Linked DNA regions of Homo sapiens: region 1 is linked to region 2. Evidence: promoter capture Hi-C in human tissues and cell types (Jung and others, 2019). All regions are on one chromosome and are shown on one strand. Each heading gives the region's core, a stretch centred on a gene start or on the middle of the fragment in contact. The rest is flanking DNA. Distances are from core to core; before and after follow the strand shown.

Region 1 (4,387 bases), core at 1,103-3,602, 42 kb after region 2:
GCATGGGTGAGCCAGGGGGTCAACTTACCAGAAACTGAACTAGGGAATCTAGTTCAGTGCGTGCAGCTGGGCAGCATCATGGGTTGATCTACAGACTTAAGCAGCACAGGGTCCCCTGCCGAGGCCATTTTGATGTGGCCCCACTGGCATAGTAAAGTTTTTGTCAGGGGTATTTCCTTAATGCCTAAATTAAATTCACATAACTATCTTTTCTTTTTTTTTCTCCCACCCTTGTTTCCTCTCTAACTCCCTTCTATTCCAAGCTATGTAAATAATAAACTTGGAATAAGAGATAGAGTGAGTTACCTATAAGATAAGCCTCAGGGATGAGATGAGGCCAAGGAGAGAGAATTCCCAGGGCTGAAGGGAGAGTTAGGGAGAGAAGAGACCTGTACATGGAGGGAAGGATGGGGTGGGGTAAGATTCAGACTCAGAGGTGGGTACTGCACCCAATAGCAGAGTCCTGTCCTGCATCTACCTGGCTGGAAGTGAGTTCTCAAAGTCCAGTTCATTAACTCTCCTGAGCAGAGAGAAGGTATCTGCAAGGATGTTGCATACCTTCTCTCCTCTGCTAGTGAACAGGAGACTCTTGGATTTTTTTCTACAAATAGAAATATAAATAATGTGCAAAACAGGAAGTGAATGCAGAATTTGTGGAGGGTACAGCTTGCCCTGGATACCTTGAGTGCCAAGCTCTGCCTTTCTCCTGGGAGAATCCAGGGATGGACAAATGGTGGCCTTGCTCAAAAAGCTCTCCCTTTGGCTTCCACCACTTCAGGTGAACCAACCCTCTGGAAACAATCACCATGTACTTGGGGAAAAAACCCCACTGACTGATACCTATCTGCTACTCTATATAACATGTGAGGTAGACATATAATCATAAAAAATAATTTTGAGTACCTATTTTGTGCCTAAAATTGTACTCAGTGCTGTATGTATAATAGTGGAAAGGCAGGACACGGCCTCCCGCTCACTGAAGGGCAAGGAAACCAGAGAGGTGCCCACAGGAGCTAATGTGGCAGAGCTGAGGTGGAGATTGGCCCAGAACCAGCAGCACTGCCCAGAACCATCAGGGCAGGGCTGCTACTTCCACTCTGCTCTTCCTGCTCCTTCACCCTGCAAAGGCCCTCAGGAAGCTCAGGCAAAATGAGAACTAACTGTGTTGCAGGCAAAAGCAGCAGAGGGAGGAAGAGTGCTCATTAGAGGGCTAGAGTGGAGCTGCTGGCAAACCCTTGACAGGAGGGCAGCTGGGGCCTTTCAGGAATTCCCCCACCTTAAAGGCCACCCTGAGCTTCAGTTTCAGAGAATGATAGTGAGCCCTCTTGCAGGAGGGGTCACTGGATGAATCAATGACCTACGTACAGAAAATAGATTTACAAATGAAAAATGTCTAGTTCATCTAGGCCAAGCACTGCTCTCTTGCTGGCCTTTGGAACTAAGTGATCCTGTAGAGAGGGTGGGAAGAGATCCTGACCCTCCTGTTACGTGGTCCCTAGGATCCCCTTTTCTGCCAGCTGCCCTGGAGGCCCAGGGACTGGGGATGCAGCTTTGCTATTGCTGAGCTTGGGGTAATGAAGGCAACATGTGTTTGATGTCACTGGGGGCCCCTGAAGTTTACCCTACTCCCTTTGCTGCTCAGGTGATGTTTCTAGAAAGTGTGATCTATCTGTGAAGTGGGATGAGAAGTGGGAGGTTATGACCAGCTTATGGCTGAGCTTTTCCTCTGAAAGGAGCCACCATCACTGTTGCATGCCTGGCTAAGCCCTTGAAGGCATGGGTGAGGCACTGAAAGATCCTGGTTGGAGGGGGCAGCTGGGAGATCCCTAAACCACTTGGCCCCAGAAACAGGGCCAAGCAGGAGCTTGGCAATAGGCGAGCACCTTGGGGAGAAAGGGGGAGAGTATGTCAGCAAGGGAGGTCTTACCCCTGTGGGCAGGACAGGGCAGAAGGCACTCTACTCCCAGTTATCAGCTCTACTGGGAGGTAATGTATCTGTCCTGCCCTGTATTCCTAAATCTCCAAGGCAGCTCTGGGCTGTGTCAAGAGCAAAACAGCGAAGCAGCTAAATCCTAAAAGACACAGCAAAAGGCCCAACAGCCAACGGCAAGGACTGCAGAGTGGAGCAGAAGTCAGAACTCCCACCTGGGACCAGGGCCACCACAAGCCCAGGGAACTTGCGGGTGTCTCCTTAAGGGCACTGGGCTGTGCATAGGCACAAAGAAGAGTCACAGAGGTGTGTCTCTGGATGGCTCCTGGACCACCTGTCCCATGGCCCTGCCTCTCGCAGGCCCCAGGCGTGCCAGCACCCAGTGTGCTTACCTGCAGGAGGAAGCGAGCCTGCCGTAGCTCCCGCATGTCAGCGTAGCTGTGGCACTGGCACGAGTAATGGTCAGTGGACCTGTCTTTGCTGCACAGGTTGAAAATGAACGGATCGCTGATGCTGAAAAGGAAACAGGCATGCAGGGCACATGTTCAGACATCAGAGTGAGGACACGTGCAGGCTTCTTCTTCTTCCTGCCCTCCACCAGCTCCACCCACATTTCCAATGACACATCAGAGAAGTGCGGTGGTCACTGCCAACCAGTGTGCTAGCCCTACTCATCTGAGAAATCCTTGCTGAGTGCTTGCCCATGTCAGCTCTAGCACTGGCCGCTGACACGTGAAAGCTGCCCTGCCCTGGAGGAACAGGGTGGGGTGCCAGCCTCACCAGGCCAGGGGACAGCAATATGACGGCGCAGTTTCCAGGATGATGCTGACAAAGGGTATGAGGGTCGGGGTGAGAAGGCCCCTGGGTGAGAGTGGGGGCCAGCAGGGAGGGCTTCATGGGTCCTGTGCGTGACTGTAAACCATGCCCAGGAGCCCTCGTGGGTTCCTGTGGCCTCTCTTCCCTGGCTCCCCCATGCCCAGCCTGGCGCTGTGCCAGCTACCTCTGCCCAGGCGTGACAGTCTCAGCCCCAGGATACCTGCCGTGCCACACACCTTAGTCCCTCTGCCCAGGTGTTCTCGTTTTGTATTGAATGACCTCTTTCCCTGGCAGGGCTGAGGGGCTGGACAAGGTAACTGAGTCAGGTGTGGCCTGTGGCTGCCACAGGGACTGACAGGACTCAGACCCTTCATGGCAGGATTGGGGAGTACAGAGCACTTGGCAGGGAGGTTTGAGGGAAGTCAGGTGACTGTGAGACTGAATGCAAACCAGAGTTAGGAGGGGTCAGGCACCACAGGGAAGAGGAGGGAGTGGAGCAGAGGAAGGCAAAGAGGCCGCTGGCAAGGCATGAGGACAGCACCTAGAGCTCATCTGCACAGCGCCTGCATCCTGAGAGGCTGCCCAGCCTGGCCTGGGCCCTGGCAACCTTCAGGATGAGGTCTCTTCAGAGGTGAGTGAGGCTCTCACTGAGACTGTAGAGTGATGTCTCGTGTCAAACCAGGGAGCTCTTCAGGACCCTTGGCCTGTCTCCCTGACATCTTCGGCAGCCCTGAGAGCTATCTGGCTCTCAGCTGAGCTGCCCCTAAACATCTCTGACTCCCAGTGGGGCCATAGTGGTAATTCTCCTTCCTACCCTTGGCTTAGGTCAAACCACATCCCAGGTCAAGGTACTGGTGGGGATGACATAGCCACTCATCTGTGCTCCCAGCATCCATGCTAACAGGAACCACAGCAAATATCCTTTGCCCCTTGGCGGCATGTCTGACTGGTCTGTCTCCCCTGCAGACCATACAAAGGCACAGGCCTGAGCTGCTGGGTATACCCAGCCCAGGACAAAGAGGTGTACTGAATTCTGAAGCGATTGCTCAGTCACACAGCAGAAATAACTTCCTGAAAGCCAGAGCTCATTCAGTTTGCAAGACCCAGGCTGGACAGAGAAAATGTAGGGAGTGCATCTTAAAATTCCCAGGCCAGGCCTGGAGCAGTGAGAAGCAATCTTGGAGAGGTGATAAGGAACTCACTGAAAAGGCAGAGAAGGGACCCACGTGTGATGAGGGACCCACCTCCTGGGCACCTGGAGGAACAGAGGCATGCCTCCAGCAGGCATCAGGCAGTCCCGAGATGAGGCCCCTTGGAGAGTTATGAGGGGTGTGCAGGAAGCTTTTCCAGAAAGATCTCAGAGTGACCCCTCCTCCCAGAGAAGCAGAAGAGAGGAGGGGAAAGGGAGGATAATAAATTTGTCCAAATATTTATTCCCAAAGAGAACAATTTGTACACTGGAAATAACTGAAATGCCTTGAGCTAATCATATGAAGCTTTTCATCATCTGGACACATGGGAGCTTCAGAAATAAAGTTGATTTCTGTTATAGACAGTTACATTTCTGAACATCTGGGGCATGTAGTCATCTTAAATTGTGTATACAACCACAGCCATTCTGATAAGATGCCAGGACTAAGA
Region 2 (4,505 bases), core at 121-2,620:
CAGCAGCCCTGGAGACCGGCTCACACTGCCCTTTCGCATTCATCTCTGCAACCACGGGGCAGGGTTGCACAGCTGGATCCTAACTGATTCACCGCCCCCATGACAGGCTTTGTTCTCACAACTGACGTTTCCAGGAGCACCTTTTGGCACATGTCTCTGGGTACTTCTGTGAGTAGCTGTGGTGCTACTGGGTTAAAAAGTATGAGTATTTACCATTTTGCTACCTATGGCCAAATGGTTCCTTTAAAAGGCCATACTAATGTACATGGCTAAAATTAAGACTTAAATATCAAACCAAAGAAGTCCCATTGTGGACTGCCCTGGTAGGAAAAAAGGGTAACAAAATGCAATACTGGGGAGAGTGTGGGGAGGAGCCCCTCTCCCTTCACCTGAAACCTCTCTTCTCTTCAGCAGAGATTACAGAGCCCAGCTCCTCAGCCTCCAAGGTGCCCCTTTGCTCCTTTTCCAGCCGTTTCTTCCCCAACTCCATAAGACTCTCCTCTACCCCCAAGACCAGGTCTTCTCAAGATGCTCCACCACACCAAGCCAAATCATATCCGTTCTCTCCATCCATCCCCTCTGCCACAGTTCTATTCAGGTACCTACAGACCCAGTCCCCACATACTCTCTGCTCCACCTGCATGGTCTGTGTCAGGACCCTGCCGGGCTCAGTCTGGACAAGGCCTGGCTGCCCGTGTGTCCCAGGGGGACAGTGCTGCTTCACATTCCCATCATAGCCCCACCGTCACATCTTCTGTCCTGGGCTCTCCATCCCTCTGCATTCAATTCTTTACTTGGCAGATTTTCCATAAGCAGAAAGCAACCCTCAGGCTGGGATTTACCTCTTCATCCCTAATAGAGAAGTCATCTATTTGGGCCATGTATCCAAGCAAGCAACACCCAACAATAAGCAGAAGCAAAACATGCTCCGATATACTGCTTTAGCTTGTAAAGGGTCAAGTGAAGATATGGTTCTCCTGCTGTGTCTGCGACTCTGCCACCCACCCAGTTCTGGAGGGTAGGCTGCTCTTAAGGCTATAGGCAAGGGCAGAGCCCAGGCTGGAGACAGTGAGGGTCATCACCTTGAAAAGGACCTGTGCTGAGCCCTCCAGAGCCATGAGCATGTGGAGTTGGCCTGCCACAGCCTGCTGCTCTTGCTACTCTGTTTTAGAAGTTGACAGGGGAGTGAGGACAGAGGAATGAAAGAAGTGGAGCTAAATGTGCCTGTTAGGATCCAGGAAATGAGATTCAGTCTCTGCTCTCCTCCCTTTCAGACAAGGTTCTAGAATTTTGCCTGTGGTCACTTGTGATGTTACTATCAGGTGGAATGGTGTACAGAAGAAAAAGGCATTTCACCATCCCCCTCCTCATTTCATTGGCTATCAGCTTCAAGGAAGTTCCATTATTTCTGGTACCATCAGAGAAAGACGCCATTACCAGCAGTTCCAGGACACCTAACCAAAGGTGAGATCTATTTTTTAAAAATATTGTTTTAAAATCATATTAATCTGAAGGTGATTACAGAACTCTTAAAATGATCTATGTGAATTTTGTTGGTAACTGGTGATTAGTTGAAAGTATTTCTTTAAAAGTTAATAAACCGCATCATCCATCATCCATCATTATCATGTAAGTTTTAGATTAAATAAGATGTTGCAAATGGCTCTTGGCTTTCTAATGTGCTCCTGAGATCCGTGGGAGGCAGCCTGAGAAAGAGCTCTGGCTGTGAAGTCAGGGACACCTGGATCTAAATTCTATCTCCACCACTTAAATGGGGGGCCCCGAGCAAGACAGCAAGCCGCTCTGATTTGCCATATCATCCTTGCAACACACTGGCCACACCTGTCACACAGGGGTGTGGGAGAGCCAGTGAGACCATGGGTCTGGAAAAGGCTAGCATTGGTGTGGGCACGGAGCTACTCAACAGGCGTGGTCCTGGCGATGTTGACATTGTTCAGGAGCAGGGGAGATTCTTTTCTACTCTTGGAGGAAGGAGAGTGCAGTGGCAGAGTGGGGCCTGCTTCTGGTCAAGACCTTCTTGGCTCTGCCAGTCCCCCTCTGAGTGACCTTAGAATTGTGCAACCTGGGAACCTGGGCACCTGCTCAGTCAGCCCAGTGGACACAATTCTGAGAAGCTCCTCAGGGTTTGCTGGGTGCCTGCATTGAGCTACAAGACAAGACTGGGGCCTGTGGGCAACTTGGGGTGGAGCAGAGAAGAACAGAAGAACTCGAATGAAGCCAGTGAGGATTGTGGCGGTTACCCGGCCTGGCCTTATTGGGCCTAGCACAGGCGGACATACAGGGGACATCACATCAACCCTTTCACTCCCTTCCCACCCAGGACAGGTGTCCACCTCTACTGGATGACTTCAAAGATGGAAAGATTATCTCTGAATCAGGACGTCGTGGGTAGTTCAAGTTCTTCCTTATTTTCAGGGGTCATTTACACCCATCCTGCTTCATTTTTAACCAAATCTCTGTCCTTTACCCCCCCAGACGAGCTTCAGAAGCTTGAGCGCTACTGCCATGTGGCCTTAGGGCCTTCCCTACCCCACACTGCACAGCATCAGTGCCCTTGAGTTGCCCCATAGTCCTGCTTTGACTCTTCTCCCTTGGGCCAGCTCCACCCAAACAGCACCTCCACCCTACCCTGAAACCAGGCCCCCAGAGCAGGTGGCAGAGAGGAAGGAGCCAGAGGCATGTTCCAAGAGCTCTTCCTCCATCGGGGGCTGGCAGAGCAGCCTGTGGCTGGGCCTCCAGATATGGTGGGTTAGACCCCAGACCAAAGGCTCTCAGCCGAGGGACTCATCTGGCTAAAGGCTGCACCCTCTCAGCCCTGGAAGGAGTCTGGGGTCTCTGCCTATCCTCTTCTTCACCTGGCACTAGGAGGCTAGGTGTAGCCCTAATATGGCAGACAACTACAGAGGGCCTGCAGGTTAACCTGGGACCCCGAGCTAATGCAGACACATCTCAAAATCCTGCTGCCTCTCCAAATTCTCCCATGTTGTGTTGCCTATTTGCAAAAACAGTTTTGAGGACATGGTAAAATGGGTTAGTGAGTGACTGAGGGATTTGTTTCTTGAGTTAAGAAGCACTAGGCATACGCAAGCCACAATGAGAAGAAAATTTGCTTATGTGGGCAAGCTGGAAACACAGGCCTGCTGATGCGTGTGGGCTATTTCTCAGGACAGGAGAAAAATAGTCCAGCTTGGCCATTGCCAGGCGAGGCTTCCTGGGTAGGGAATGTGTGAGCTGGGGAGATGCTGGGGGCAGAGTGTGGCAGGGGTAGAGTGTGGCAGGGACAGAGTTGTTCAGTGAGAAGCCAAACACACTCCCTCTCTCCCCATTTATTTCTCCTAAGAAGCACATCTTGGTCAACCTGGACTCTACTTTTTAAACCCAGGCAGGGCATTAGAAATCCATGTAGAGACAGACGTACCCTTTCAAACCAGAGACACCCTGCTGGATGAACAGCTCATTAAACCTCTCTGTTATAACTACCTATCGCTTTTCATTTCCCTAACGTGGAAAATCTGCATACAGTTCTAGACCTAATAATAACACTTAATTGTTTAACCTGTTAGAAAGTGTGAAGACTTTTTGCCTATTGTCTAATTTCCACAAAGGCCCAATGAGGTTACCATAATTTCCATTAACAGATGAAGATATGGAGGTGTGGGGCAAGGAGGTGGTGTACAGGCCAGGGAGGTGAAATTCATTGTTGGTGTCTACCCTAGGCCTGGCACAGAGCAGCCAGCATAAACACCGACACGCTGACTGTTCAGAGCACCTGCCAGGACCAGATCTTGCTCCAGGACCCTAACACTGAAGAAAACAAATGCAAACAAACAAAAATCTTCATCCAAATGTATGAAATGCCAGCTACCTGACAAACTAATCAGTGGCATATATTTGGCAGCATGATGGTAAAAAATGAGCATTAGTAAATTGACCAGATTGTTATGGTACAACTATGCCATAATATGAGGCTGTACATACGTTAAAAATCTGAAAGTTGGCTGGCACAGTGGCTCACACGTGTAATCCCAACACTCTGGGAGGCCGAGGTGGGCGGATCACCTGAGGTCAGGAGTTCGAGACCAGCCTAGCCAACATGGAAAAACCTCGTCTCTACTAAAAATACAAAAATTAGCCAGGCGTGGTGGTGGGTGCCTGTAATCCCAGCTACTCGAACCCGGGAGGTGAAGTTTGCAGTGAGCCGAGGTCGTGCCACTGCACTCCAGCCTGGGTGACAAGAGTGAGACTATGTCTCAAAAAAACAAAACCTGAAGTTTATACAATACAAAGTTACTGCCAGTTGCCAAAATTATGAGCACTTTTAATTTTCTTTTTTTTTCTTTTTTTTTTTTTTGAGACGGAGTCTCACTCTGTTGCCCAGGCTGGAGTGCAGTGGCGCGATCTCGGCTCACTGCAACCTCTGTCTCCTGGGTTCAAGCGATTCTCCTGCCTCAGCCTCCCAAGTAGCTGGCACTACAGGTGCTTGC

What was found. The method cuts DNA at HindIII sites, captures the fragments that hold promoters and counts their contacts. A contact is called where the count stands out against the background at its distance.
Region 1: a fragment that was not itself captured here is called in contact with the fragment with the promoter of LRRC18 in region 2 in 3 of the 25 tissues and cell types used here (aorta, liver and stomach).

Annotation. Positions count from the first base shown.
Region 1 is chr10:48,895,510-48,899,896 of GRCh38, reverse strand. It overlaps WDFY4 (WDFY family member 4), which reads right to left. Exons shown (of 62, transcript NM_001394531.1): 45 at 2,323-2,443. Among named protein-coding and RNA genes, the nearest start is that of LRRC18, 42 kb to the left of the region's middle. RefSeq lists an enhancer at 1,819-2,579. The HindIII fragment of the contact is 6,329 bases long and covers 1-4,387 here.
Region 2 is chr10:48,936,705-48,941,209 of GRCh38, reverse strand. LRRC18 (leucine rich repeat containing 18) reads left to right here and starts at 1,370. Exons shown (of 4, transcript NM_001378102.1): 1 at 1,370-1,464. All of the region lies in intron 47 of WDFY4 (WDFY family member 4), which reads right to left. The HindIII fragment of the contact is 9,630 bases long and covers 1-4,505 here.